Regions from separate parts of the Homo sapiens genome. Here all the other regions are linked to region 1. The links are contacts of gene promoters, found by promoter capture Hi-C in blood cells and fetal thymus (Javierre and others, 2016). All regions are on one chromosome and are shown on one strand. Each heading gives the region's core, a stretch centred on a gene start or on the middle of the fragment in contact. The rest is flanking DNA. Distances are from core to core; before and after follow the strand shown. Region 1 holds the start of SMIM15 (small integral membrane protein 15). Region 2 has its middle 5.2 kb from the start of LINC03122. Region 3 has its middle 57 kb from the start of LINC03122. Region 4 overlaps ZSWIM6 (zinc finger SWIM-type containing 6). Region 5 overlaps ZSWIM6 (zinc finger SWIM-type containing 6). Region 6 overlaps ZSWIM6 (zinc finger SWIM-type containing 6).

The links. Contacts are between HindIII fragments. The CHiCAGO score rates a contact against its expected background, and 5 or more counts as called.
Region 2: a fragment that was not itself captured here is called in contact with the fragment with the promoter of SMIM15 in region 1 in 2 of 17 cell types (total B cells and total CD8 T cells); the score reaches 5.6 in total B cells.
Region 3: a contact is called between a fragment that was not itself captured here and the fragment with the promoter of SMIM15 in region 1, in 1 of 17 cell types (activated CD4 T cells). The highest score is 5.3, in activated CD4 T cells.
Region 4: a contact is called between a fragment that was not itself captured here and the fragment with the promoter of SMIM15 in region 1, in 2 of 17 cell types (total CD4 T cells and total CD8 T cells). The highest score is 5.8, in total CD4 T cells.
Region 5: a contact is called between a fragment that was not itself captured here and the fragment with the promoter of SMIM15 in region 1, in 1 of 17 cell types (monocytes). The highest score is 6.7, in monocytes.
Region 6: a contact is called between a fragment that was not itself captured here and the fragment with the promoter of SMIM15 in region 1, in 1 of 17 cell types (monocytes). The highest score is 5.2, in monocytes.

What each region holds. Positions count from the first base shown.
Region 1 is chr5:61,159,474-61,164,433 of GRCh38, forward strand. It overlaps SMIM15 (small integral membrane protein 15), which reads right to left and starts at 2,995. Exons shown (of 3, transcript NM_001048249.4): 1 at 2,744-2,995; 2 at 1,615-1,754; 3 at 1-726. The coding sequence starts at 698. The coding sequence ends at 474. SMIM15-AS1 (SMIM15 antisense RNA 1) reads left to right here and starts at 2,843. Exons shown (of 4, transcript NR_109908.1): 1 at 2,843-3,053. RefSeq lists enhancers at 2,162-3,058, 2,544-2,623, 2,694-2,953, 3,484-3,583, 3,624-3,683 and a silencer at 3,134-3,243. The HindIII fragment of the contact is 8,836 bases long and covers 1-4,960 here.
Region 2 is chr5:61,630,061-61,635,020 of GRCh38, forward strand. No RefSeq gene overlaps it. Among named protein-coding and RNA genes, the nearest start is that of LINC03122, 5.2 kb to the right of the region's middle. The HindIII fragment of the contact is 1,149 bases long and covers 2,196-3,344 here.
Region 3 is chr5:61,578,648-61,583,607 of GRCh38, forward strand. No RefSeq gene overlaps it. Among named protein-coding and RNA genes, the nearest start is that of LINC03122, 57 kb to the right of the region's middle. The HindIII fragment of the contact is 656 bases long and covers 2,549-3,204 here.
Region 4 is chr5:61,499,496-61,504,455 of GRCh38, forward strand. All of the region lies in intron 4 of ZSWIM6 (zinc finger SWIM-type containing 6), which reads left to right. Among named protein-coding and RNA genes, the nearest start is that of LINC03122, 140 kb to the right of the region's middle. The HindIII fragment of the contact is 174 bases long and covers 2,655-2,828 here.
Region 5 is chr5:61,447,270-61,452,229 of GRCh38, forward strand. All of the region lies in intron 1 of ZSWIM6 (zinc finger SWIM-type containing 6), which reads left to right. Among named protein-coding and RNA genes, the nearest start is that of ZSWIM6, 120 kb to the left of the region's middle. The HindIII fragment of the contact is 1,043 bases long and covers 2,465-3,507 here.
Region 6 is chr5:61,418,788-61,423,747 of GRCh38, forward strand. All of the region lies in intron 1 of ZSWIM6 (zinc finger SWIM-type containing 6), which reads left to right. Among named protein-coding and RNA genes, the nearest start is that of ZSWIM6, 89 kb to the left of the region's middle. The HindIII fragment of the contact is 6,718 bases long and covers 1-4,960 here.

The DNA of each region.
Region 1 (4,960 bases), core at 1,745-4,244:
TAATAAAAGATGTAATTAATATACTGTATCCCTTTTAAGCCAAAGCACACTTTTTACCTCAAGACTGTTCTGACTTTTACATTCTTAATTTCCTTTGTCCAAAATAGGACCCCATTTTAAATAGAGTTCATTTGAATTGAGTTCATAATCTAAAGTCACTTTTCCCCACAAGATGTTTTCATTTCAGTATATAAACTGCTAAGCGGCAAATGACTAAGTCAGTTATAAAGAATTTGTACCACAGTAAATGCTAATTTACAATAACTGTCAATAGAAACCTATAAACTTCTACACCCACGCCTAAAAGTTACTATAGTATTGAGGTCAGAACTAACATGATTCTTCCATTTGGTCAAATTTCATTTACTAAATCATACTGTCAAGAAATCCAAAGAAGAAACTTTAGTGGATTCTTCCAAAGCTGTGTAATTTTCCAAATGATTTTCCTCTGGTTGCAAAGCCTGTTCAGTCCTTCAATCCTTTTTTAGTCGTTTAGCTTTTGCAATGTTTTCTTGGCGTTTTTGCTTCTTCTTTTGCTCCTTCTCCCTGGCCTCAATCATCTTGGCCAATTTCCAAGACAGTACAGCACTTGCTAGGAACAGTGGAGTAAGGGCCAAAATAACGGTTGTAAGGAAGCCATAGGGGTCCTTTGCAGCCCATTCCACAACATACTCAGCCCAAGCCTTTATATCAAACATCTTCACAGCAGTCTTATGAAAACTGGGGCTGGGGGAGGCGGGTGGAGAACACAGAGGAAAAAAACAGGAGAAAAGACTATGTGGTTAATCAAATTTTGAAAAAGTTTCCTCACACAACCAGTTAACTCAGGATTCCATTATCACTCAGTTTGCTTTTTTAAAAAGTACAACTTAGTACTATTGTAATAAGGACTAGTATCTCTGGTTAGGAAAAAGTAATTCATCTAGTACAGCCAGAATAGTGACACTTCAAAGAGGTAAAGTTATAGAAGATTTAAAAAAGCCATGTGACTCTGTCATAAGGACTATGCATTCTCACATGCCTCCTATATTCAAGACAAACTTTATTTAGGAGGAGGCTTTTATAAAAATCTTGAGTTTTCTGTGGTCATTCCAGGAAACAGCTGAATACAGTTTGTCATTTTTTGACATATCCTTAGTATTACTAATTAACAAAAATACAAATCAGCAAATTTGGTGTTTGAAAAGGACAAGCAACAGAGCATGTGAAATGCTCGCAGAGAAGGAGAGATGACTATTTCCCCGAATGGGAAGGAGAGGGTAAGGGAGTCATGACATCGCATTAATATGCCAAAGAAGCAAAAAGTACTGTGCTATTTTATGCCCTTTCAGCTTTGAGGACCTCTGTTGGAATAAGCCTAATTTAATAAATGAGAAAGTAGCCTTAACAGATGCCATGTGTTTTGTTCCTTTTTGAGTGTAAGGAAAAGGCAACTGGCAAATGAGGATTATGTGACTTGAGTGACGTTTTCTATTTTGCCCCAGAGGCTTTTCTCCCTTTCATGTTTGTGTCAACCGCTATTCAAAGTGGAGAATTAGAATACCTGGGTAGGGAATGAGTGTATATACATCCACTTACAATTTCAACTGGAATTTTTTTAAAAAAATCATCTACCTTATGCTTGAGTAGTGATCCCTTAACTTTGTCCTGGTGTTATTAGTGACCCAATCACGACTTCAGATGACCCTTGGTAGTCTGTCTTCTTGAGTTCTACTGTACACATCTGAGAGACGGTTTAAATTCTGTACAATTGGCTAGTTGGAAAGAATACAAAAAATAAAACAAAATTTAAGTCACAATTTCAGGATAATTGTAATAAAATTTTAAATGGAAAATTTCTATATTGTATATATGCAACCTATATGACATCTAAAATTGCCTATCCGGTATAGTAACTTAATACGTTTCTTCCTCATTTGAATTTACAATTGCAAATGCCCTGTAAGAAAATCCTAATTACTGGAAATCAAGTATTTTACTAAGTTACTTATTTCAATAATAAAATTTTTTTAGTTCATTGACATACGGGAGACAAGTTGGCTCACTGACTGACTTACACAGCGTATCCGTTCCTAGATTTTCAATTTTTATACTAAAAATGTTGCCACTCATTTATTTACTGGATTAGGTACACCACTACAAAATCAAACAGCTCATCTTACTCTTTATAAAGGTTTTTTTGGGTCCATCATACAATTTGTGTCCTTTACTTAAAAAATTAGAAGACATAACCAAACAAATTATAGTAATTCACCCACAGTCCCATTACCCCAAGAAAACTGTGACTAGTTTTAATTATATCTTCCCCACGATTTTCAACTGAACACACATGAAAGTGCCTAATACGTTAAATATCTTAGCTCCTGGACTTCATACGACCTCACCCATACAGTTAGAATTAGGTACTACTGAGATCGATCTGCCTTCACCTTCTCCAGCCCAGTAGCGAATAAACAATGTAAGTTTCAGAAATAAGCAAAAGAACTTTGCAGTAAAAGAGCCATGGTCCACAGGCCACACATCTCCCTGCAACTCAACTTCGGACCCAAACGCTCGCGCCTCCACACTTTCAGGAATAAATCCTACTCTTCCGCCCAAAACGGATCGACCAGGCTCGATCTCCCAACCAGACCCGCGTGGCCCCTGCGGCTGCAACGGGTAGCACTTGACGGCCGTCCGCACTTCCTCCTTTGTCTTTCCCTTATTCCTTACGTTTCTCCCTTGCTCACTCTTCCCTCCTTACCCTATCGGGGCTGCAGACCCACGGAGGCCACGTTCACTCCTGCCCGTCGGCCTTGGCAAGCGCGGGCCCCTTGTCGCGCAGAGCGGAGGGTCCTGGGAGATCCTGGGTTGGCCCAGCCACACCTTGCGCCGCCGCCGTTTCTGCTGGACACCAGGAGAAAACCACGGCAGCTGCAGCCACCAACTTCCCCTACATAGCCCCACGGGATCGGATCCCACTCCCCACTCACCGCCAGACCGGAAGCAGGAAGGCGGAAGTCGCGGCCTTTGCGTCCCGCCCACAGGCGACCCGAGCCGCCAGCCGGGCGTGAGTAAGTCTAGGGCCCAGTTTCCGGCTGCGCCATTGCTGTGTGGGTCTTGGGACCTCGAGTTGGAGGACGCGGGAGGGTGGGGGCGGGGGCAGGGCAGCGCTGAGATTTCCGGGGAGCGGCAGGTGAGGCCGCGCGGGGCGGGTGACGGCACCCGGGCGGGCTCCTTTCCAGGCTGGAGCCCGAGACTGCCACGTCCTGCGGGGACCAAGTGGTGGGCGAGGAGGCGTGGAGCGGCTTCAGGACTCGAGGAGCGGTTCCGAAGCAGCTAGGGACTTTTGCCTTTGCCCCCCGAGGTCGATCGGAAGACAACCCCCATCCCCTGCTGTAGCGGGACAGTTGGAGGGTCATGGGTGGGTGAAGTGTTTGGCTGAGGGAAACTCAGACCAAAGAGCAGCGGCAAGAAAGCAGTTGGGTCCCCACAAAACGCCCGAAGTCAAGGTGAGGGTCACACAACGACTCTTGACGATTCCGGCGAGTTCATCCTGGTGCACATCCCACTCCATGCCTCTCTCTTCTGGTTGGACAATAGTTACATCCTTACGAAAAGGAGGCAAGCTACTGGGCCTTGGTGGATCCACTCAACCTTGTTACCAAGGGACATGCCGCCATGCTATGTGAAAAGGGGGGTTTTGTTGTTTGTTTTTAATTTAAGTATCTAATTCGTTTCACGAAAGAATGATCAATACCGGCCCAGAGTAAACTTGATAAGTAATTAAACTGTCAGGGCATAGAGTTCCCATAGAGGTGCTTGTTCTTTCAATACACAAATAAAGGGATGCAAAAGTCAACATGCAGAAAGGGTGAGTTAATATTGTCTTCTAATCTACAGGAACTGAAAGATTAGCTAATCTGGTTTGGTTGGTGACCAAATTTTGTGATTGCTTGCACTGTTTGACTACCTCTGACAAATGTTGCAAGACCTCTTCACTGATTCTCCAAAGACTATAGAATGTTCTCTTTCAGGAGCAAGCTGCGACATGTTTAACTAGTTTAGGTAAAACAACAATAACTGTTATTTACCAGGGAACAGGCTTTTGGCAGATAATCTAACGATCTACGATACTGTTCGTTGGGCATATGTTAATGTTTGTAATGTTGTATTACCAGCAGTTGTTTTCTTACTCCTTTTTATTTGAAAACCTGGATGATAGTTTCAAAGCCTATGCTGCTTAGGCCTAGCCTGTACCTTAGTAGCCAGAAAAAGTAGACTCAGTCACTGGATTGTGTGCACTGAATACTTACTTGAGATAACTGATTTTTCTAAAACTTCCCCAAGTCTTGAATCCAAGATGTGGGCAGAATGTATTATTTTAACATCCTTCGTTCCAGAGGCCAATGCGTGTTTTATTTTAATCATGATAGGTGGTTTTCCCAGTTACTGCCTCCGGATACTTGCAGTGCTGCATCCCTAGTTAAAAGCCCAGAAGTCTTGGGCAGGAAGGAAGGGCATATAAAGAGAAAGCCTTTGTAGTTCTTTAGCTGTAATCTAGACCAGGGGTCCCCAACGACGGACTGGTACCTGGTTTGCAGCCTGTTAGGAACGGGGCCGCACAGCAGGAGGTGAGCGATGGGTGAGTGAGCATTTCCGTCTAAGTTCCGCCTCCTGTCAGATCAGCAGCATCATTAGATTCTCATGGTGCGAACCGTAATGTGAACTGCATGTGCGAGGGATCTAGGTTGTGCGCTCCTTATGATAATCTAATGCCTGATGATCTGAGGTGGAACAGCTTCATCCTGAAAGCATCCCCCATCCCCGTCCATGGAAAAATTGTTTTCCACGAAACCAGTCCTGGATGCCATTAAGGTTGGAGACTGCTGATCTAGACCATGCCTTTACAATCTAAGTTTGCTCATCTAGCTTCAAGTTACAGGACAGTCTGCAAGACCAGGAACAGCATAGGGGTTGC
Region 2 (4,960 bases), core at 1,520-4,019, 470 kb after region 1:
CATGTCCTTTGCAGGGATATGGATGAAGCTGGAAACCATCATTCTCAGCAGACTAACACAGGAACAGAAAATCAATCACTCCATGTTCTCACTCATAAGTGGGAGTTGAACAATGAGAACACATGGACACAGGGAGGGGAACATCACACACCAGGGCCTGTTGGGGGGTGGGGGCAAGGGGAGGGAGAGCATTAGGAGAAATACCTAATGTAGATGACAGGTTAATGGGTGCAGCAAACCGCCAGGGCACATGTATACCTATGTAACAAACCTGCACGTTCTGCAGATGTATCCCAGGATTTAAAGTATAATAATACAAAAAATGTTGTGCAGTCAAAATTTGTAATATTTTAATTTATAGCTTTTGTCTTTGCTGTCATTCTTGAGATGTAGTCTCATTCTGTCTCCCAGGCTAGAGTCCAGTAGCACAATCTCTGCTCACTGTAACTTCCGCCTCCTGGGTTCAAGCGATTCTCCTGCCTCAGCCTCCTGAGTAGCTGGGATTACAGGCATGAGCCACCATGCCCAGCTAATTTTTGTATTTTTTAGTAGAGATGGGGTTTCACCATGTTGGCCAGGCTGGTCTTGAACTCCTGGCCCCAAGTTATCCACTCACCTAGGCCTTCCAAAGTGCTGGGATTACAGGCATGAGACACTGTGCCCGGCTTGTTTCACTTAAAGTTTTAGTTCATATGGAATTAATTTTGGTATCTGACAGAAATAGGAATCTAAGTTTACTCCCTTCCCCACTCCCTTATCCTCATTGTTAGTCCTGAATCCATTTGACTCTACCATATGCTATGGCCAAGCCCCAAACAAACAGATCCAGATGGGAAGATTTAGTGTGGGAGACCCTGGCCCTAAGAAGCACTGAGGGAGTGGGATCAGGAAACCTTTATAAACAGGAACGGGACCTGTTTTATGGTCCCATATGTTGGAATCACATAAATCTGGATGAAGCCAGTCTCTGTCACTTTTACTCCCTGGAATGTGGGACAAACAAATAAGTTACTGAACTTATTTAAACCTCAGTTTTGCATCTGTGAAATGGGTACAATGATAACCCCTACCTCTCAAAATGGTGGTGAGGATAATGTGATAATACAAATGTGAAATGCTTCAGCACACAGCAAAGCATTCAATATTATTAGTAGTAGCGGGTAAAGAGAAATGGAGAATGATGGCAACAGCATGTAATATAGAGATATTAAAAGAAACACAGACATTATCAACAATTAGAGACACAAAGGTGATACTTCCCTGTGCTGTGGTTCTATTTTGAGTCCCAGAAAGTTTATCAGACCAATTAGGAGGGTTTCCTGTGAAAAGAAAGGCTTATAGTCCTAGAGCCTGGATCTACTGGAGCCTGCACTTAAATGCACACAATTCAAAGGAATCCAGTGGCATTTCTGTTCTCCAACCTGTTCCAAGGCTTTCTGATGAACCTGCCTGCGTCAAAGTGAATCAGCTGAGCAAGCTGGCATTTGGAGAGCTCACAGGACGGAGAGCACTCGGGGCTTGTGCTTTAAGTGGGCAGCCATCTCCCTCCTGGCTCGCCCCCAGCTGAGGATTGCTGCACAGAGAAATAGTCACTGGACGTGAGCCAGGGGCAGCAGTCAGCTTAACCAAAGGAATCAATGGACACTGTGTTTTCCCTCTGCAAATGAGGAAAATGACATGGTAAGAAGGCATATGCCTTGTCCAGAATCACAAATCCCAGGGGCAGAAAAGGCAAAGAGAAACGCTGCCTCAGAAGGAGCCATTTCCCATCCCGAGGAAGCCCAGAGCTGGGACTTGGTTAACAAAGGAAACAGAAACGGGAACGCTGCCCTCGAGCTCCCGGGGAGTGGAGGCCCAGCATATTTTTATGAAGCATGGACAATGAGTAGCCATTCAAAAGGCCGATGCTGCCTCTTCTTAGGAAAGGGCAAATATTTTAGGAATCCCTTCAAGCAAATGCCGGATTGCTTTTTAGGGGAGTGGGACTTGGCTGGGTAGTTAGTACCAAGGGCTTTAAGCTTTGATTCTGAGTTTTGCTCCTATAGAACAGTGGTTCTTAATTCTGGCTACACATTGGAATTAGATGAGCTCTTAATCCAGGAGGTTGGATTAAATTAGCCTGTAGTAGGGCCTTGACGTCAGTATTGTGAAAAGCTCCTTAGTGAATCCTAATATGCAGATTAGGGTTGAGAAGAAGCTTCCTGTTGCATTGCTCTTCCCAGCTGCATCTCACTTCCCAGCTGATGAGAACTAGGTTACAGGGCCAAACCATGCTAGCAAAATGTTTCTCACACTTCAAGGAATTGTCTGGGGACCTTGTTAAAGTGCAAGTTCTGATTCCGTAGGTCTGGGGCAGGGCCTGAGATTCTATATCTTTTACAACCTTCCAGGTGTTGCTGATGTTGCTGGTGTCAGGACCACACTTTGAGTAGGAAGAGTCTAGAAGTGGTCCTCATAATTCAGTGAGCATAAAATTTTCCAGTGAGTTCCAGGGGCAGGCTCCAGGAATCTGTATTTTTAACAAGTCCTCCGGTGAATTGATGTATTTGGTAGTTCAAGGCCACACTTGGAGAATGGGGTCAGCCTACCTACGGTTTTCTCAGGCATTTGTCATTTTAGCATATCCTGGGCAAATACTTGGCTGGAAGACCACATAGTCAATTGGCCTGGAGTTGAAATAAGAAGAAAGCCCGTGATGCCTGGCTCCCAGGCCTGAATCCCAGCCTGCTGACTCTGGTATCCCTTAACGTTCAGGCCAAATCCCATTACCACAGGAGACCTACAAGTCTTTGCATTTTCTTGGGATAAAGGAACCATCTGTTTAGGTTTGGGTTTTGACTATGAAGTCATTTACCCTGTTCCCTCTTGGAACTGTGACTAATGTATCAAGAGTCAGAGCAGAGATCCTGGGAGAATGAAATGCAAAGTACTTTCAAGAGCCCTCCACCTAAGGAAAACCCTCATGCAAGAAGGTGAAAGATGCTGTAAAAAAAAGTCACTGCTATATGTGATTTTAAGGACATCAAATAAGAAGCCTCCACCAAATTAATGTGGCTTTTCTATTTCAATAACATGGCCTGTGAGGTAGGATAAAGCCAGGACCTGAAATGACAGCCTGAAAGAGAATGGACAAATCAGGCACATACTCTCATTTGGTTACTGTTAAACCACTGTTTTTCAAGTACAAGTTATTCAACTTATAGATGATTCTGGCCTTTGGTTCTTCTCTCTTTTCTCTCTTTGGTTTGGCCATTTCACTGTTTATTAGCAGCTCCACCGAGGGTGGGAAATAGAAATGGACCTCAAATGAGGCAGGGTAACATCTGTGAGTAGGTCTGCTTAGAAGCTTGATGAGGGGGAACAGAGATTTTAATTGTAATTGCAGAAATTATAGAATTCGCTTCACTGTGCTGTCTAGGCCCACTTTTATATGGCAAATCCCAGCCTTATAACAAGAACAGACCACTCTCCCTACCCATAGTTCAACAATTGGCAGCAATGATTCAGTGGAAAAATTGGAACTTTAAAAATGCTTTATTCTTTCACTCAAGTATACTTATTGCTTTATATGCTTCTTATTCGCATGGTCATCTGGTAAACCTGGTTGTGAAATGGGGACAGAAATTTATCACTGCATGTACGTAGGAACATGGGCAGGTGTGACTTTCATGTTTAAGGAAGTTTTTGTGGTCTACTCTTCTAGTTAGTTATAATATATTATATAACAAAACATATCTCCTGTTCCTGTCACTTGGTATAATAAATATGTTGGTGAAATTTCTTGCAGAGTTTGATTACTCAGTCAAAACCTAAGTATCCTGTTGGGAGAAGAACACTCATTTTAGTGGCACTGTTCTATTCTTTGGATGAATTGAATAGTTACTAATCCAGCCACAGAAGAAAGACACAGGTAATTGCAATTGAGCAAACATACAGAACCCCACAAAAAAAAAGACTCACGAGAAGTGTAAAATTTCCCATCAAACATCCATCCATCTCTATTTTCTCCATTCCTTAGAATAGTCATTGTAGCCATAGGAAATAACTCGGGACCAGGTCTACACTAGGAGGAAAAATGTCATTCCTCATTCAAGCACTCTGGAAATGAGTTTAAAAAGACACAGTCTGCCCATGGTCAATGTGAGGTCAAAAACTCTAGTAGCCAATTTGAATTTTCTTTTAAGAAAATGTAACACACCACCTACTACCCCGCTTTTTACTGTGTAACACCACTAGAGTTCTTTAGGTTGTCCGAGGGTAGACAGGGATGTTGATTGGTCAATGTTTTAAATGTAACTTGTTTAAATTAACAGCAACTATTTTCTCTCATTTATCTATATCACCAATACCATGAGGCCTCACCCGGGGCCACTGTTGGAAATCAGGTGTTACAATGCAACTGGTGGTTATGGTTTTCATGTGGTCAGGATCCCTTAGACTGGTCGCTGCATGAAGCTCCATGCCTCTTGCTCACTGCTGTTTCTTGGGTGAATAGCACAGTGCTTGGTTATATGTAGGCATGTGAATTGGTGGTCTGGGTTTAAACCATGTTAGGCAACAAATGCTTTTCAATATATGAAATTTTTAGAGCTGGAAATACCTTTGAGAGAATAGAGGTCACTATACATTTTCTGTCTAGCAGCAATTCTCCCAATTTTCCTTCCACACAGAATTGTGATTTTGTTCTGTTTTCTTCCGCTTTTGTACTCCCAGGAGAGGCTGAAACATCACCTCTTGAGGGTCTCCTTTCTGGTGATTTATTCAGATATTGGCACATGTGACTCAATAATGGCCAATACTATGTGAAGGGACATCTTCTGGGGAGTCTTCCTCCTTTTCTTCCGGATTCTTTGTGTCTGAATGTGATGCCTGGAGATGCAACAGCAGTCTCACTACCAGCACGAGGATGAAGCTGATACCCAGGTATGGCGAGAGAGAGAGAAAGATAGAAAGAACCCAG
Region 3 (4,960 bases), core at 1,627-4,126, 420 kb after region 1:
TGAAGCTCCCGCCATTCTAGGCCATGCTGAAAGCCAGGGAGGTTAGAGATACCCAGTGGTGTGCTGGAACTAGGTCTCACTGGCTCATGAAAGTCAATTGCAAACATCTCTTCCTAATTTCTCATTCAGTGAGGTTACAATGGTAGTTTGAAATGGCCATGGTGGGAGTATTTACACCACAGAAACTGGCATTAATTCAGGCCATTCTCGCCCTGGGAGGCCAGAACGCTGCTGGAGACATTAATTCAGATTGGTCATATTTGTTTTGTGGAGATCTTCATTAATCTTGGTGAGTTTCTTGCCATTTGTCACCCATGTCTTTAGCTTGCTGTCTTCTATCCCCAGGTACCATCTCACTTGCTCATTCTTCCTTTTCTTTTATCTCCTTCTCAGTTCATCAGTTCAGGTTTAACCAAATAGACCAAACCCAATGCCATCCTTTCACTTTACTCACTTTACAAATGTTACTCACTGTGTCATCCTGCATCTGCTACTAGTTTTCTTTTGTATACTATTAATAACAATTGTTCCTACAATTTTCTTGATTCAGCCTAAAATAGCTTAATCCAGCTTTCACCAAACAGCTTTACTCTTGGGCTTTCTGAGTAAAATGTTGGTCTGGCTCTTTGGTTTACAAGTCATGATAGTCACTGTTGCATTTTGAAACAGCAGATGATCTTTGGGGTTGGAAAAAGTGACTAATCTGGAAGACCTTTTTGAATATTTTTAGGGCAGAATGTTAGGTGTAGGGTATTAAAGTAAGGGAAACATTGAAGTTAACTTTGAAATGTTAAACAGAAAGGGTGAGCTGATGTTAAGTCAGTAATTGAATTAGGAAAATAAGAGGGGCTTGTTTAAGGGGGCATGGCTTGATTTTAGATATGCTTTGTTTAAGATAAGGTAGTGTGGCATAGAGAAAAAAATATGACTTGAACTCAGAACACCTGGGATGGAACCTAAACTATAAAAGACATGTTTTGGCTGGGCGTGGTGGCTCACTCCTGTAATCCCAGCACTTTGGGAGGCTGAGGCTGGCAGATCACTTGAGGTTAGGAATTCGAGACCAGCCTTGCCAACATGGTGAAACCCCGTCTCTACTAAAAATACAAAAATTAGCCGGGCATGGTGGTGGGCACTTGTAATCCCAGTTGGGGGGGCTGAGGCAGGAAAATTGGTTGAATCTGGGAGGTGGAGGTTGCAGTGAGCTGAGATGGTGCCACTGCACTTCAGCCTGGGTGATAGAGTGAGACTCCGTCTCAAAAAAAAAAAAAAAAAAAAGACATGTTTTGAGGATGTGTGCCCAATCCATGCATCTTTCCCTGAGAATTGCCTCTCCTGCATCCATGTTTGGTACTTTCTAATCCACCTCTACCAGCTCCTGGCTATAGTTGATGGGGTCAGGAGTTGTTACCTGATAGGAGCTGGTGAATCCAAATCTCTCTCATGAGAATTTGGAATTAGTAGACATGACTATGATCAGTCTTTGTGTATATTGGACTTGTAAGGGTGCTGTAGTCTGGGGGGACAAGGAAGCCATTTTTGAGCCTCCATGATGATATGATGGAGCATGATGAGCAAGGCGAGAGGGCCGGTCTGCAGCTGCAGAGAGAGGCAGGAGGGTGGAACAGGTGGTTAGTTAGTGAGGAGCAGGGATGACGCACAATCTGATGAGGGAAGGAGAAAGAAAGTAGCTGCCTTGATCTGCTGGTTCGCCAGACCTAGTTCCAGCTTCTCATGGCTCTTACTCTTGAGTTCTAGGAGACATCCTGCTTACCTTATAATAAGGTCTGCTTCTACTTGTTAACCTGAGGAATTTCTGCTTCATGGAGCTAACACAGTCCTAAGACCCTGGCTCTGCTGCTTGCTGTTTCAAGCCTTAACTAAGTCACAGAGCTCACTTTGCAGATGGGTTTTAGTTTCTTCATCTGTAAAATGAGGGTAATAATGTTTATCTTTTTGGGTTGTATGAAGATTATGTAAGATACTCTATGATAAGCACTTAGAAAAGTGCCTGGTATTTAATAATCACTGAGTGAATGTGAGGTAATATTATTTTGTGAAAACATCTATTAGGGTGCCTGGCATTTGACAGGAAACTGACAGTTACTAGGTGACAAATATAAGCTCTCTTGAGTCTTCATACCCTTACTCTTCTCTCGGCCTAGAATGCCCTTTGCCATTGCATCCGCCGGGCCACCTGCCACTTGGCCCTTCCTTTGAGGTCTCCTTGGTGGGTACTCCTCTATGGTGGCAATTGTTATCCTTCATTATTGTTGTTTACTTATGTCTCCTCTCTAAACTTTGATTCATTAAAGGAAGTCAAGTTTTTCTTGGTACTCAATTTTTAGTAACATCATGCATGACAAGGTCACTATAAATGTTTGATAAATTAAAGGGTGGATGAAGACATACAGTCTAGACTTTGGGGTCAAAGACATCACATGGGGACCATCTACTCTAAAAGGATACTTGAAGTTAGAGGTGTGAATGAGATCACCAGAGGACTGTAGCATGAGCAGAGAAGAGGATGAAGGCAGAATGTGACAAAAGCTTATTGAATGGGAAGGAGTGGGCTCAGAGGAGGCAGCAAACCTAAAAAAAAGTAGGGTAAGGATGGGGTACGTGAAGGAGTAAGAGAATGCAGAGAAGTAGAAACTAAGAAAGAAGAAACACGGCAAATTTAAGAAGTGGTGAGAAGTGTTAAAACATCATATAATCTGAGAATAAGATGTTTTAGACAGATATTGCACCTTGGAGGCCATTAATGAGGTATTTAAAAGCAGATTCAAAAGATTGGCTAAAGAGAAAGCCAGATTCTAATGTATTTGTGTTGATGGTAAGTATACACTGTTCCTAAGCTGGGTACAGTGGCTCATACCTGTAATCCCAGCAACTTGGGAGGCTGAAGCAGGAGGATCACTTGAAGCCAAGAGTTCAAGACCAGCCTGGGCAACATGGTGAGACCCCTGTCTCAAAAAAAGTATACACGGCTACTTTGGTAATTCAATAAAAAATGAAGAGGGAGAAAGCATGTTGAAAATATGTGTTAGGATAAAGAACATTGGAGAAAGTATTATGCTCGCCCTACCTTCAAGTGAGTAGGCTCTCTAAACTGTCCTTTTGCTATGTAAAGTAATGCTATACTTATATTTTCTCCATTTGCCATTTTAATGAAGTTTCTCCTGAGCTACTCTTCAGTAAACAAGCTTTTATTTACTATTTTCTCTACTCTTTATGATCTTAGATACTGGTAGTCTTATTTCTGCTAATTTTTCTTATTTTATTTTATTTTATTTTATTATTATTATACTTTAAGTTTTAGGGTAACCCCATCCATCCATCCACCCACCCACCTACCACATATCCATCCATCCACATGTTCATTCTTCCATAAAATAAATATTAATAAGGCCACTATTAAGATCTAGGCACTACCTTAGGAAATTTAGAGAACCAAGACTGCCCTCAAGGAGTTTCTAGTCTAGTTGAGAAGATTAGAACACACTGGCTGCCTTCTCTGGAGTATTCTAGTTTCATTCTTTTGGAAGTTGGAGCCACCTCTTGATACCCCAGATACTGTGGTGGTGTGCTTGACCCCAGGGATTCATAATGGTTGACCAGCCTAGAGCTCATCCAGCAAGTCAGAAACCAGGCTCCATGGAAGCAGTTTGTCCAATAGCAAGCCAGAGACAAAGGCAATAGGCTGTATGGTTTGGGAGCCTCTCTGTGAAAGAGCTGTGTGCATTATTCATGGCTTGTCATTTGCAGTCAAAGAGACAGACTGCCCTCTGACATCTCTGAAGAAGTTCATGATTTATTGGAGGCATCAGAAGAAATATAAAACTAAATAGTAATATAATCCCCTGGGGGAAGTCTTACTTTGGTATTTTACATAATATTAGAAACTCAGCAAATAGTTTCCCTGAGATAAAAACTTTGGCAAACATTCGACTGAAATGTTTGAGAAGTGAAACCATTCAAGTTTTTGTGTCAGGAGACTTGAGTCTCATCCAGCCTTCTAAATATCAAAATTTGAAAAATCCCTGAATACAAAGGAATAGGAAGTCTGTAATTCAAACAACACAATATCAGCAGCTCTATCCCCGGTTCTGGAAATTGTGGGGGATTTTGAAGTCTTCCTCTTTGTGCCTTTCCCCACACCACCAAAACAAGTAATAACACTTTAATTGTGATTCTTTGTTATCAGAAGTGAAGAAATATGCTGGATCTTAGGTGTCTCTGTGTGATCATACCTGTACAATTTAGGAAGAAGATTGTGCTTTTGTTTTGCTTTTACAATTAACAGAAGATCCAACTATAAGGTATTTAAATGATGAGTTGGACTTTATTTTCCTCAAATAACAAGAAGTGTGGAGGTGGACAGCCCAAGACTGATCCCGCTGCTCTGAGATGCTATCAGTTGCTTTGGATCATCCTGTTCCATCATTCTTAGCATGCAGCTTCAAGCTTCCTGTTTGCAAGACTGCTCCAGACAGGAAGAAGGGGGAATGCCAGTCTTTTCCTTGAGACCCTTTGTCTTTTTACTTGGAAAGGGAAGTGTTTCCCTGTGACGTCCACTGACCAGAACATGGCCATTGCTGGCTGGAACGTGGCTAGGAAAACTGAGTACTGATGTTCCTTGAATTAGGATGGGATCACACCCCCAGTAAACCCATCGTGTGTTGGAAATACCATGAGTTGACAATGCATTTAATAGACTTAAACTACCAAACATCATAGCTTAGCCTAGCCTCTCTTAAACATGTTCAGAATACCTACATCATCCTACAATTGGGCAATATCATCTAACACAAAGCCTATATTTTAATAAAATGTTAAATGTCTCATGTAATTTATTGAATATTGTACTGAAAGTGAAAGAACAGAATGATTGTATGGGTACTTGAAGTACGGTTTCCACTGAATATCTTTCACTTTTGCACCATCATAAAATTAAAAA
Region 4 (4,960 bases), core at 1,492-3,991, 340 kb after region 1:
AGAACAGCCAAGAATGGATGAAGGAGAACTTTGATAGAGTAATTTCATTACAAATTAGTACAAAGGTTTATAGAAACCAAATTTAATATGGTTTTATAAGATGTTTATGGAGGTGTGTTGCAGGGAAGAAGCAGTGTGAATACTCCAGAAAAAAGAAACAACTTGAACAAAGACAGCAGTGGGCTCAGTGGAGGAGAGTAGAGAGCCTTCAAACTCATTATCAAAACTGTTGAGATTTTCAATCCAACCTTGCTGTTCTGTATTGTTGCTTAAAAGCGGAGAAGAGGGAGATGGTAGACAGGTATCATAAAACCTGGATTTTTGCTTTATTTCTCATTTTGGTCTAGCTCCTAATGATAACATAGTTGCCAACATTTATTTGTCAGGAACTGTGCTAAGCACTTAATGCATGTGTTGTTTTATTTAATCCCTGAAACAATCCTGTGAAATAGGTCCAATTATTTGCCCTCATTTTACAGCCAATAATACTGAGGTTTAAGGAGGCTTGATAACTTGCCCGAGGTCACAGTAGCAAAGCAGGAATTTAATCCCAGGTGTCAGTGACTTCAAAAACATAACCACCAGTCTAGACAATGTCCTCAGCTTTATTATTATTATTATTATTATTATTATCATTATCATTATTATTTTGAGACAGAGTCGCTGTGTCGCCTAGGCTGGAGTTCAGTAGTGCGATCACGGCTCACCACAATCTCTGCCTCCCAGGTTCCAGTAATTCTCCTACCTTAGCCTCCTGGGTAGCTGGGACTACAGGCGCTGGTTGCCACACCTGGCTAATTTTTTGTATTTTTAGTAGAGATGGGGTTTCACTACGTTAACCAGGCTGGTCTCGAACTCCTGACCTCGTGATATGCCCACCTCAGCCTCCCAAAGTGCTAGGATTACAGACATGAGCCACCGTACCTAGCCAGCTTATTGTTAAACACTATTATATGCCTCTCTTCCAGGTAGTCTCTCTACTCGGAGCAGAGCAAGGTCAAAGCGAAGCTCACCTAGTGGGGAATAAACCCTGTAAGAGCTGCCTGGCCTTGTCTGCCTACCCATGGTACCACAATCCTGACTACCATAGTCCGCTGAGCTTACCTAGTCTAGTCGCTAATTTGTACCCATGTTTACAGGGACCCTCTAACTTCAGGTTCTTTGAGAAAACAAGCACATGGATCCAATAGCCAAATACGTGCCATTGACTGAGAACTGTATTAAATAATAAACTTCAGCTTATCATAAATATAGGTACTACATGCTGTAGTATGGGGTACTACTGTAGGATAGAATACAGTGAAGTTTGTATCCCATTTTCAGGTCCCCTTTGGTAAGGAGCCGGTGAAGACCCTTAGCTCATTGTCTTTGCCCTGGCCTGAACTAGGCGCTGATAATGACCACAGAGTTGCCAGCACTAGTTTATCTCATATGGCTCTGTAGGCTCTGCAGACCCCTTCCTGACATAAGCTGTCCTGCTGGGATGGGGTTGTATACTCTGGTCTCAGTTTCTGCTTCTCTCTGCCTTGTTCAGAGTTTCCTGTAAATACAGAGGATTGGTCAATTGTATTGCTGAGAAGGCTTTACTTCCCTCCAGCACTGTTCTCAGAAGGCTCATCTGCTTCTAGGTCCTCATTACTGGGGCATGTTTTCTTTCCCTGTGCTGTCCTACTGCTTTCTGTCTCTTAAAACTCAGAACTCTGTATTCTTGGGTCATAGACCTCGGAGTTCTGCCCTGCTGTGGGGGTGGAAAAGAGGGGTTTATTTTCTGCTTCTTTAAGTAAACAGAGTAATCTCTAGTTTGGGTCAGAAGTAAACCAAAAGAGAGAATGTATGGGCAAACCTAGGATAAATACTTGCTGTGTACTGCTATCAACTATCCTCTTGACTGTGGCTGCTAGGGTTTAATTATCCATTCAGTTACCTGTATAGGGAAGAGTGGAAATAAAGAGAAAAACTTTAAAATACGAATTAAAAAAATAGATTTTCAGGATTAAAAGAGACTTTACAGGTCATTTGATCCTATTGTCTAACCAATTGGAAATTCTTAGTAGTATCCATTGTCTAAACTGTTTCTGTATAGAATTAGATAATTTGTAACAACACTGGAGATTCACCTCCTTGTGTGTTTTTATGAAACCATATGCTAAACATGGAGATTTGGTGAGGAATTAAGATGCTTTAAGGCTCATTGTAATACACTTGAGTGTTACTGTCTTATATATGTTGTGTGTTAGTAGCTTTATTTGTATCAAGAATCGATTCCAGTTACTTTCTTTTATGTCATCTTTCTACTTACAGCATTAGTCCATTGGTAGTAGATACTCTTCTCACATTAGTGGTTAATAGGAATGTCATAGCGTTGGTATAAGGTGTCCTCTTCTTTCTCATAATTCTTAGAAAGGTTCTCTCCCTACTTTTCCTGTTTCCTAAGAGATAGTACTGACCGCACTTGCCTTCAAGAAATGTCCACCAATGGGAATTCTGGCTAGGGAAGTCTCCTTACTAGGCTGTGGATCTAGAGAGTACTATCATGGTAGGGTGGAGGGGGAGAGCGAGAGTGAAAATGAAGCAAGACAAGCTGGGGAAGAAAATTTCCTTTCACCATTTCTTACCCTGAAGTGGCAGCATAGAAAAATTAATGAGGTCTGAGAAGCTTCGTTTTAAGCCATCTGGGATTCCCAGGGGCTTCACAGAGAATCAGGGATGCCAGGAGCAGGAAGGAAAGAAGTGGAAGCAAAGGGAAGGCTGAAGCAGCTCCTTAGGCAGCTCTGTGTATGTGCCAATATCAAGCAAGGTGCTTTATACATGCTATCATAGTTAATTTAAGCTTCGTTAGGCTCATGATGGGGAGGAAAACCCAAGGAAGTTAGAAATGGTTGTCCTTAGAGGGGGGTGTTCAGACACTGCCCTGCAGAGCCCCTAGGTTTGGGGTCAGGGGGAAGCGAGTGCTGAAGGGACGAGGCAGATCCTTCTCAATCAGAGCAGTGTGACTTTACCACATTACTACTAGGGTTTTCATCAAGATTGTTCTGGAGGAAAGGATTCCGATATTATAAATGCATGCTTGATAATCACTATCTTCAGTAGGCTTTTAATAGGTACTCTTGTTAGACATGTACTAAAACAGGGGTTCCCCCATCCCCGGACTGTGGACCAGTATCAGTCCGTGGCCTGTTAGGAACTGAGGCACATAGCAGGAGGTGAGTGGTAGGCAACTGAGCATTACTGCCTGAGTGCTACCTCCTGTCAGATCAGCAGTGGCATTAGATTCTCATAGGAGCACAAACCCTGTTGTGAGCTGCACACATGAGGGATCGAGGTTGCGTGCTCCTTATGAGAATCTAATGCCTAATGATCTGAGGTGGAATAGTTTCATCCCAAAACCATGCCCCGGCAACTGCCACCCCGCCCCCGCCACCAGTACTCATACGTGGAAAAATTTTCTTCCACAAAGCCAGTCCCTGGTGCCAAAAAGGTTGGGGACTGCTGTACTAAAGGATGACTTTTAAATTTATATAAATAGCTTTTTCCTATATACTTTAGGGGAAGGCAAGATGGCAGATGATTTGCAGCAAGTGAACTTTTGTGAGGCTGCTTGCAAGCTTGTCTGATAATTGTATAACACTGTTTTCATGTTTTATTTTAAAATTCCAAAATTAATATAAGAAAAAGACTCTGTATAGTAAAATGCTAGAGCCTTCTGATGTTAATTTGCTTCAGGGAGTTAATAACTGGTCTTAGGGCTATTTTCTTAGACTTTGATCTGGTTGACAGAATACCCAGGGTAATGATACTAGTTGTCTGAAAAATGTAGGTAACTCACTCAGTTCTCTGTGCTTTCTGCTGCAAAGATAACCTTTGAAATAGAAAGCCAAATCTCTGTGATTTTAAGCTATGACTAGCTAGATTAATAAATTTCAAAATTTGCTTCAGCAAACCTGGAGAAGAGAGTGAGAAACATTAATAAAGTAGGAATCAGAGAGAGACCTTGAAGTGGCTTAGATTGGAAGCCATAGTCTTCCTTTGTGTATGATCAAGGGTGGAATGAGTTGAATGGAAGAATCCCAAACAGGGCACTTGGGTCAAATATAAGCTTGGAATGGAGAGAAAATCCTGTTAGGAGGAATACTTCCAAAATGCTCCCAAGAGCACAAAGTCTGTTTCCCCCCGCCACTTTGAAGATGAGATTAATATATCCAGCAACCTGTTCACCAGAACAGATTGACCATGCACTAGAAGATATTCTTTGCTAAGCATTAGGGTCATATGTAGACCACATAATTTGAAAGATTTGCCTGTGTGTTTGGAAACCATTAACCACTCACTGTATTTAATAGTAGTATCGTCAGTTATTGTCTTTATTGGCAAATTTAAACTAATGTCATACCCATCCTTTCTTAATCTTCTTTTTATTCCTGTATTAATGTCTATTTGATAATCTTACCCCTTTTTTCCACTCCTTCCCAAAAATAGTGAAAGTAATTTTTATTTTTCCTATAAAGGTGAAAATATGTGCCTGATATTATAATTGAAGCTCAGTAAATATTTGTGAATTAAAAAGTGAATGAATAATTGAAGTGTAATGCTGACACTTACTTAGAAACATCAAGAAGCAGTTATTTTTGATGTACTGAAAACAATGATTGAAAGGTATTAATCTTTACTGAGTCCTCCATTTTCTTCTTCTGCTTTATCTAGCCTTCTCCACCCATGTGCACAATATTCATGGGTGCCTGTGTGTGCCTGGACACACACACATGCACTCTGAAATACAAACAGTTTAGAGTACAGAAGGGCAATGATTCTCCCTTGCCATCAATGCTGCAGGTAATCTATTGCATTAATCAGCCAGCCAGTGGGAAATGCATGGGGAGTGATTATACTATCATACACAATACAATCAGCATGAAGCACTTGTCAAGACCAATACATCAAAGTTTAATTCACTAATAGAATG
Region 5 (4,960 bases), core at 1,736-4,235, 290 kb after region 1:
AAATTCTGATTTCCCATAACTGTATCAACACATATACAAACAATTACTGAAACACAATCCAACTGCACTGAAACACAATCCAACTGCTGCAGCAACAGACAAGCCCCAAAAGTGTCCAAACTGAAACAGAAAGGTTGCTTTCCTCTCTCAGTCAGTTGGGCTTGTTCAACCTGCAAACAGAAATTCCTTCAGAATTTCTTAGAGGAGCAAATCCAGCTGCTGGTATCCACAAAGGACACTCACTCATCTGAACATAGATGTCAGATTTCAAAGGCTGTTTTTTTCTAGGCAGTCAGGCAGCAGCGTGGCCAAAGAGAGAGACGAAAACCCACCTCCAGCCAAAAAAGGGTCAGGCAGTTTCTTAGGAGGGCTTCTAAGAATTCTCCTGGCTTGCAGCAGCTGACCGGCAAGCAATGTGTTCAGGTCAGGGAATCAAAATCTGTTACTGACATGCTAGAGGTTTGTTTTAGGTCTTGCAAGTAGCTGCACAGAAAGCCAATCACTGAGACAGTGAGTATTGCCAGGGAATAAGGTTTTACTCAGGTGCTGCAGCTAAGGAGATGGGGGAGATCAGTCTCAAATCTATCTCCCTGATGGACTAAAATTAAGGGTTTATATAGCAGGGAAGAAATGTAACCATGTGTGCTAAAATAGGAATTAGGGAGGAGTAAAGAGAAGTTGGTCAGCAGGAAGCAGGTGGTCAGTTAGGCAATTGTGATGGGTGAGGGGTCTGGTGTCTCATTATCCAGATATGGTATCTGGTAATTATAGTTCATTTGAGACTTTCTGGGAGACCTGATGGTTTCTTGAGAAAGGAACTCAGATAAGACAGTTTTAACTTTCTCAAGTTTTAAGACTGGGAGGATCAATTTCTGTGTTTATTCAAAAGAAACCATAAACATCAGTTCTATGTGACAATTGGGCCAGTTTCCATAGTGCATTAGCATCATAGCCTCTCTGAGTTTCCTATTTTCCAAAGGGGGAAAATAATACGTATTTTATTGAGTTGTAAAACTATCAATTGTGAAAAGCACTTAACATAGTACATGACTCTTGTCACTTTCTTCTTTATATATTTGGATTTGTGGGTCAAGTGAGATCATAAAAATCACTTTTCAGAATATCACGTTCTATACAATTGAACATAGGCCTATATTAAATTAGTTTCCTTCTCATTCATTATTTCATTTTCTTCCCTGTAACTGGTTTGTTGAATAACAATGCTACTTCATTAAAATGTTTTGCAAACTTAATTTTTCTTTTTATCAAATACTGTAGTTTTCTAGTAAATGAGATAATGTATATAAATATATACATGTTCTGTTTGGGGGAGGAGGGTAGATGATAATGGTGTTGCTGTGCATTCTGAAAGGATTTGCAACCTGAGAGAGACAGACTGGTTCTGATCTGATACACTTAGTGTCAGTACAATAAACACACTGAACCAAGAAATATATGGGGGTATGATAAGAATATGTATTTGCTATGCAGAAGACAAAAGCATGTTTTAGGAATGAAGAGAAAGGATAAGGCCATAGATGGGAGTGGAAGTTAAGACTAGCCTTGACTAGAAATACTGAAGTAGTCTGAAAAAAATCACAGTTGCAGTAGGAATAGAGAGTAATAGGTATATGTAGGATATTTTGACATTTTTAGTTGTAATGCTGCCTGCAAGGAGAACCTGCTGGCAAACCTCACAAAATTGTAGCACTGTTGCCCTGGTAGTCCTTGTAACCAAAGCATCTCCGTTCCCACTTTAAAGCCCTTTGGCCATCCTATACAATTCCTGTTGGGCATTTACACCTAAGAATGTTGACTCCTGGTAAGTGTTTTGTATAGTCCTGGGTTCATCCTAATGATAGAATAGAGCAGTAATTTAGAAAGTACCTACACCAGTAGGATGCCCACTATTTTATAATTACATTGGTTTCTCATACTATTTCTCTGAAGCTGGGAAAACCATTTATTTTTGTTTGAGTTCTAGGCCCAATTTTTTGCTTAAAGAGGTCACACATTGACTTTCATGTTTAATATTACTGAAAGGTATGTAATGAAGCATTCTTTATTAGGCTTATAAAACTTTTTTAGCAATTTGTTTTTTAAATTTATTTCCAGAGTTTTAATATTTTTAAATTTATTGTTTAGGGATGGGGTCTTACCATGTTGCCCAGGCTGTCCTTGAACTCCTTGGCTCAAGCAGTCTTCCTGCCTCAGCGTCCTGAGTAGCTGAGATTGCAGATGCACGCTATTGTACCCAGAAATACTTTTTTATTTAATTGTTAACAGCCTAGGTTTGAATAAGGCCATATGTACCACTTCACAATTCTCTGGTAAAATTATATCAGTCTGCACCTCAAAAGGTATTTGGTAGTTTGGTTCTACTGAGATTTTGTTGTCATAGTTCCAGAAGTCACATGCCCGGCAAAACTGGGGTTGACAGTATACTGTAAGACTGACTGTACAAAGCTTGATGGGGCACCCATTCCATCACTTTATGCTCTTTTCCCCTCTCCTTGTAAGGGTGGGTACTTTAGGACAGGAACAAGGAGAAGCAAATGGGAAGGCACTCTGAGTGAAACACCTGTTCCCAGTTGATCTCCAGGTGTGACCAGGCAGTAAGCTAATAAGGAAGGATGACTGAATGTATGAATAATCAGTCACCTCACTGCCAGCTTAACCAGAAAGACACAGAGATGGGTTGGGGCATTGAACAGTTTTGGACTGACCCTGCTGAATACAGTATTTCAGTGGAATGAAAGAATAGTTTCCTTTTTAGGAAAATTACGTGTTCCAAATTGATATATCCCTGTCACCACCTCTCAACCTCTTCTTAGAAATTCAATATAATAACAGTCCAGGAGCCTCTTGAGCCTTTCAACATCCTCAGCCCGCTTTTTCCATCCTGCCTTTCTTTCTGCCCTTCTTGGATAATCTTTCCCACTCATTTTTCCCCTCCAACAATCTGGCAGTAGTAGGAAAGGTAGGAAGAAGAATGGTGATTTGTTCAAATTCTTCTTTGCCCCACACATGAAATGGGTACTGCTGAAGGCAGTGAAAAATAGATGGCTGTGGGTGGTTTGTTAGTGACTCATCAGTCTTTCCATTCTGCTGGGAAAGGGAAGGGCTGGGACCAGATGGGAATGCATTCCAGAGACTCTTGCTTTAAATGATTTCTCATTTATGTGATTTATTTAAAAATAAATAATTGCTAGGCCAAGTAAGGGCCACAAAAAAGTATACACTTCATTGAATTGCCACATTGCCACATTTTTCCTAGAGTGGGTTAATAAAGCCTTCTGATAGGGTAGCCACTGGTGGGGATTTTTTTTAAATCATTTCCTGGTGGTGAATTTATGATTATACTTCACTGTACTATGAATGCTTGATCTACATAATCAAGATTAGTATTATTGTTACTAAATACAGGACTCCAAATTTGTGAGTAGTATACAAGACAAATACCACTCTTACCCTCATGAAATAATAAACAATGATTTATGAAGGTAAAGCTTGTGGCAGGGATAAGCCCGTGCTCAATGGAGAAATAAATAAGTGAGTATAGGGAAGAGGAACCCCAGGAACATTTGCCATGGTCATTTTGGGAATACTTGAGTAGTCAAGTGTATTTCTTAGAGCTATCTGTAATTTTTCTTTATTAAATTGAGGTTTGTTTATTTATTTAAGGATAATGTGGTTCCAAGAAGTCTGTTTCCAAGGTCTGTAGTTTGAAGCTCCTTTTACCTTAAAAGTATGTCCTGAACCCTGAAGACTGACCATCTGGCTAGTGTGGTTGTTGTCATTGTGATCAATAAAGACAGCTTTGATTTATGAGCAATTTATCCTGCTTACAACTGCACAGAAGAGGCAGTGGTTCATATTTTGGCTCCTGTTCAGCTGGGGGAACTTGAGCTCCCTTAGTTCTTTCAGAAAGCCTGGCTAGGAAGCTGGCATCATGGCAGGAATGTTTTAGTTAGCTTCAGGAAGTCAGGATACCAATGTCAGAGTAATTCAACTGACAGAATAACTACTTTTTATTTTTTTAATCCAAATTATGCTTTAAATTATGATCCTATTTAAGTATATTATTTAAAAGTTAAAAATGTTATTTAAACATTTCTAAATTTTGAGGGCTTTTTATGAATAACTTGGGGCTTTTGAAGACAGATGCATAAGATACTTCAAAATCAGAAGACATTTTTACTTGGAGTACTAAGTTAACATTGGTCCTGTAAGGGAGGCAAGAGTATTCATGATTATTTGAGGCAGCTCAAATGGGTTTCTCTTTTTTATCTTTCCCAGCATAGACAAACTTCTTGTTTTTGTGAAGGGAAAATACTTTACCCCAGAATGGCAATAAAGATAGAGGAAAGGTTCTTTCTTTTAAATGGAGAAGGCAGATTTCTCATTAGACTTCATTAATTAGTGAAGCTTGTTTTACCCTATAGATTCTGAATGGGTGTAATACTTTCTGCATTGGTTTTTAGAAATTGCTATTTTCTAGATTCATTCAAGAAAGATGAATGTAACCTTCTAAGTTTGGAATTTATAGAGATGGAAAAAATTTTAGCACCTAATAAATTGTTTATTTGTCAGGATGTGCTATAAGTTAAAAGGTGAACTTCTTCCTTTACCCTTTTAGTAGTTACAAATATATATGTAGTATATATTAAAGAATATGTAAGTATGTATGAGTTATAAAACAAAACAATACAAGGAACACTTAGTACCCGCTACTCAACCTTAACAATGTAAGGTTACTGGTACTCTTGGAGCCTTTTGTGTGCCTCTCTCAGATACCTTTACTTCATTTCCCATTTCCCACCCACTGCAGAAATTATCCTGAGCTTTGAGTCAATCATTTTCTTGCTGTTTTAAGGAAAATAATTTCCCACTGAGTGTCCTGTTCCTTTATATACTGTAACCTCCTACTTTTTTCTAGTTTTTCCCCTTAAAAATACTA
Region 6 (4,960 bases), core at 1,199-3,698, 260 kb after region 1:
CCTTGCTTTTCACATCCCTCAGCTCCTGTTTATAACTTACTATTATTTTTTTGAGACAGAGTCTTGCCCTGTCGCCCAGGCTAGAGTGCAGTGGTGCAATCTCGGCTCACTGCAACCTCCACCTCCCAGGTTCAAGCGATTCTCCTGCCTCAGCCTCCTGAGTAGCTGGGACTACAGGTGTGCGCCGCCATGCCTGGCTAATTTTTGTGTTTTTAGTAGAGACAGAATTTCACCATGTTTGCCAGGCTGGTCTTGAACTCCTGACTTCAGGTGATCCCCCTGCCTTGGCCTTCCAAAGTTTTGGGATTACAGGCATGAGCCACCACGCCCGGCCTCCTCTTTATAACTTAGTTGGGTTAGTTTCCATGTATAGTAATGAATTTTCTCTCAGGAAAGCCATTGTGGCCTATAGATTAAAGTTATTTGCCCTTTGTATTTGATACTATCAACATGCCTTGGTGTCTTTAGTCACTCTTTGGATTTGGCTCACCAGAGAGGTTTAGAAAGATTGAAAGATAATTCTACCATTATCTCACTGGTTATATTACTGTTGATGGTATCACATCCATTACAGTTCTCATGAACCACTGAGTAAATCAGTGCTGTGCTCTGGGCTCACTATTAAGTTGATTTTCATTTGTACTCAAGGCTATACCATTTGGATGTTAATATTAAGCTCTGCTTCCAGTCTTCAAGGTCTAGAACTGAGCTGCCCAGTAAGGCAGCCACTAGCCACATGTGGCTATTTAGATTTACATTAATTATAATTAAATAACATGGAACATTCATTTTCTCAGTGATGCATTTCAAGTGCTCAATAGTTACATGTGGCTAGTGGCTAATATATTGAACAGCTCAGGTATAGAACATTTCCATCATTGTAGAAAATTCTATTAGACAGCACTGGTCTAGAATATCATGCCTTGTCCACACAATGCAAGCCTCTCCTGAAAGGCTTTTTTCTTCTGAGGGATGTGCCCTTCAGGACAATGGTAGTTTGTGGCCCTTGCCTTCTGGTTGTATGAATTACAGAACAGGATATACAATAGGTTGATCTGGGCTGGAGTTAGGTGTGCAATTGTGTTAGAAGTAGTTGTGGTTTCATCAATAGAAATATCTTAGAAATTGCAATCAGAAGGTCTGGGTTGAGATCCAACTTTGCCCTTTACTAGAAACATGGATTTGGGTTAACCATTTGACATCTTTGAACTTCAGTTTTTTAACCTGTAACACGAAGATCATATCTCACAGGATTGTTGTGTCATATACATTAGAAAGTACTTTATAAACTGTAAAATCTATTCAGATATTTTTATGGTTATTTTAGGAACACCAAACATTTTAATTTGCAAGAGTAATCTTTAAATTCTTTCATCTTTGCCTGGAGGGCATCACATTGAATTAATTGATAAAGAATGAAAAAATGACTGTACAAAGAACCTAACACATGCTCTAGAGACCAGCACATTGTCTAATGACAGAATAGGATTAAGTGATGGAGCATGTGAAAGACCTACAAAATGATACTAATGTCCAGCTTTTTACTATATATCTGAAAGTTTTAACAATATTGTAGACATTTCACTTGCTCCTAGACCAGTAGATGACTCATTTAACATCAGATAGGAAGAAAGATCACTTATAATAAGGTTTTAAAATGTTCTCCATACAGAAGTTTCTAGTATTTTTTTTACCAGAACACAATTTTTTTTTTTTGATATCACAGTGAATTGGGGCATGGTGTTAAGCATTATCCATGTTTTATACTGACTAAGTAGCAGTAGAACAGAGGCTGCCGGGGAGTGGTGGTAGAGAGTGTGTAGGGAGGTGCACGTTAGAACAATTTGATTTGATAATTGATTATAATGATGATTAATTTTTAATTTTTAATTTTTGTGGGTACATAGTGAGTATGTATATTTATGGACTATATGGGATATTTTGATACAGGCATGGAACATGTAATAATCACATCAGGGTAAATGGCATATCAATCACCTCAAGCATTTATCCTTTGTGCTACAGGCAATCCTGTTATACTCTTTTAGTTATTTTAAAATGTAAAATTAAATTATTTTTGACTATAGTCACCCTGCTGTGCTAACAAATACTAGGTCTTATTCGTTCTATTTTTTTTTTTTCCTTCTTTTGAGATGGAGTCTTGCTCTGTCACCCAGGCTGGAGTGCAGTGGTGGGGTCTTGGATCACTGCAACCTCTGCCTCCCAGGTTCAAGCAGTGCTCATGTCTCAGTCTCCGAGGTGGCTGGAATTACCGGCGCACCCTGCTCAGCTAATTTATTTATTTATTTTTTATTAGAGATGGGGTTTTGCCACGATGCCCAGGCTGGTCTCAAACTCCTGGCCTCAAGTGTTCTGCTGGCCTTGGCCTCCCAAAGTGCTGGGATTACAAGCTAGAGCCACTGTGCCTGGCCTCATTCTGTCTTTGTTTTTGTTTTTGTACCCATTAACCATCCCCACTTTTCTTCCTAGCCTCTGGTAATCATCTTTCTACTCTCTTAATGAGTTCAGTTGTTTTAATTTTTAGGTCCCACAAATAAGTGAGAACATGCAAAGTTTGTCTTTCTATGCCTGGCTTATTTCACTTAACATAATGACCTCCAGTTCCCTTCATGTTGTTGCACATGATAGGATCTCATTTTTTCATGGCTGTATAGTATTCCATTGTGCATATGTATCACATGAAAAAAAATTTTAGGTTCAGGGGTACATGTGAAGATTTGTTACATAGGTAAACTCATGTCATGGGGGTTTGTTGTACAGATTATTTCATCACCCAGGTATTAAACCCAGTACCCAACAGTTATCTTTTCTGCTCCTCTTTCTCCTCCTACACTCAAGTAGGCCCCATTGTCTGTTGTTCCCTTCTTTGTGTCCATGAGTTCTCATCATTTAGCTTCCACTTATAAGTGAGAACATGTTTTATTTGGTTTTCTGTTACTGCATTAGTTTGCTAAGAATAGTGGCCTGTAAGTCCATCCATGTTCCTGTAAAAGACATGAAGTTGTTCTCTTTTATGGCTGCATAGTATTCCATGGTGTATATGTACCACATTTTCTTTAGCCAGTATGTCATCAATGTTGCCCATTTTTTAATCGATTAGATTTTTTCCTCTAGGGTTGTTTGAGCACAGCCTTGTATATTCTGGTTATTAATCCCTTGTCAGGTGGGTAGTTTGCAAATATTTTCTCCCATTCTGCGAGTTGTCTCTTCAGTTTGTTGATCGTTTCCTTTGCTGTGCAGCAGCTTTTAAATAATAAATTGATGTGATCCCATTTGTCCATTTTTGCTTTGGTTGCCTGTGCTTGTGGGATATTACTCAATAAATCTTTGCCCAGCCCAGTGTCCTGGAGAGTTTCCCCAAAGTTTTCCTTTAGAAGTTTAATAGTTCGAGGTCTTAGATTTAAGTGTTTAATCCATTTTGATCTGATTTTTGTATATGGTGAGAGACAGGGGTCTAGTTTCATTCTTTTGCATATGGATATCTAATTTTCCCAGCACCATTTATTGAAGAGACTGTCCTTTTCCCAAAGGATTTTCTTGGCACTTTTGTCAAAAATGAATTCACTGTAGATATATGGATTCATCTCTGGGTTCTCTGTTCTATTCCACTTACTAAGTGTCTATTTTTATGCTGGCACTGTACTGTTTTGGTTACTATAGCTCTGTAGTATAATTTGAAGTCAAGTAATGTTATTCCTCCAGTTTTGTTCTTTTTGCTTAGATAGCTTTGACTATTTTGGGTCTTTTGTGGTTCCATACAAAGTTTAGGATTTTTTTTTCTGTTCCTGTGAAGAACGTCATTGGCATCTTGATTGGTATTGCATTAAGTCTGTAGATTACTTTGGGTAGTGTGGACATTTTAACAATATTGATTCTTCTAATCCATGAACATGGAGTATATTTCCATTTTTGTGTGTGTCTTCTTTTATTTTTTACATTAGTGTTTTATAATTTTCATTCTAGAGATCTTTCACTTCCTTGGTTAATTCCTAGGTATTTTATTTGTAGCTATTGTAAATAAGATTACTTTCTTGATTTTTCAGATTGTTTGCTGTTGGCATATAAAAATGCTACTGATTTTTGTATGTTGATTTTGTATCATGCAACTATACTAAATATGTTTATCAGAACAAATAGTTTTTTAATGGAGTTTTTAGATTTTTCCAAATATAAGGTAATTTGGAAACAAGGATAATTTGACTTCTTCCTTTCCACTTTGGATGCCGTTTCTCTTCTTTTCTTTTCTTTCTTTTTCTTTCTCTTGTCTGATTACTTTAACTAGAACTTCCAGTATTATGTTGAATAATAGTGGTGAGGGCCAGGCGCAGTGGCTCACGCCTGTAATCCCAGCACTTTGGGAGGCCAAGGCAGGTGGATCACCTGAGGTCAGGAGTTTGAGACCAGCCTGGCCAACATAGTGAAACCCCGTCTCTACTAAAAATACAAAAAATTAGCAGGACATGGTGGCGGATGCCTGTAATCCCAGCTACTCGGTAGGCTGAGGCAGGAGAATCGCTTGAACCTGGGAGGTGGAGGTTGCAGTGAGCTGAGATCGTGCTATTGCATTCCATCCTGGGCATCAAGAGTGAAACTCCATCTCAAAAAAAAAACACAAAAAAAAAACAAAACGGCAACAACAAAAAACAGTGGTGAAAATGGGCATCCTTGTTGTTGGTCACTGATAATTAAGAAGCAGTTATAGATGTTGCATTTGTGCTAGTTTCTTATCTTAGGTGATCAGAAAGGAAGTGACAGAGGCAACCACTTTTAGTGAAGATACATGTAGAATCTTCAGCAAGTGATATTGCTACAAATCAGATGGCACCACCCAGATGGTAAGTTCACTGTGTTTATTCCAACTCTGCATTCCACTGTCAGTAGGATGGTTATCTATGCATTCAGCACTGCACAAATTGTACAAGCCAGTGAGCCTTCTGCC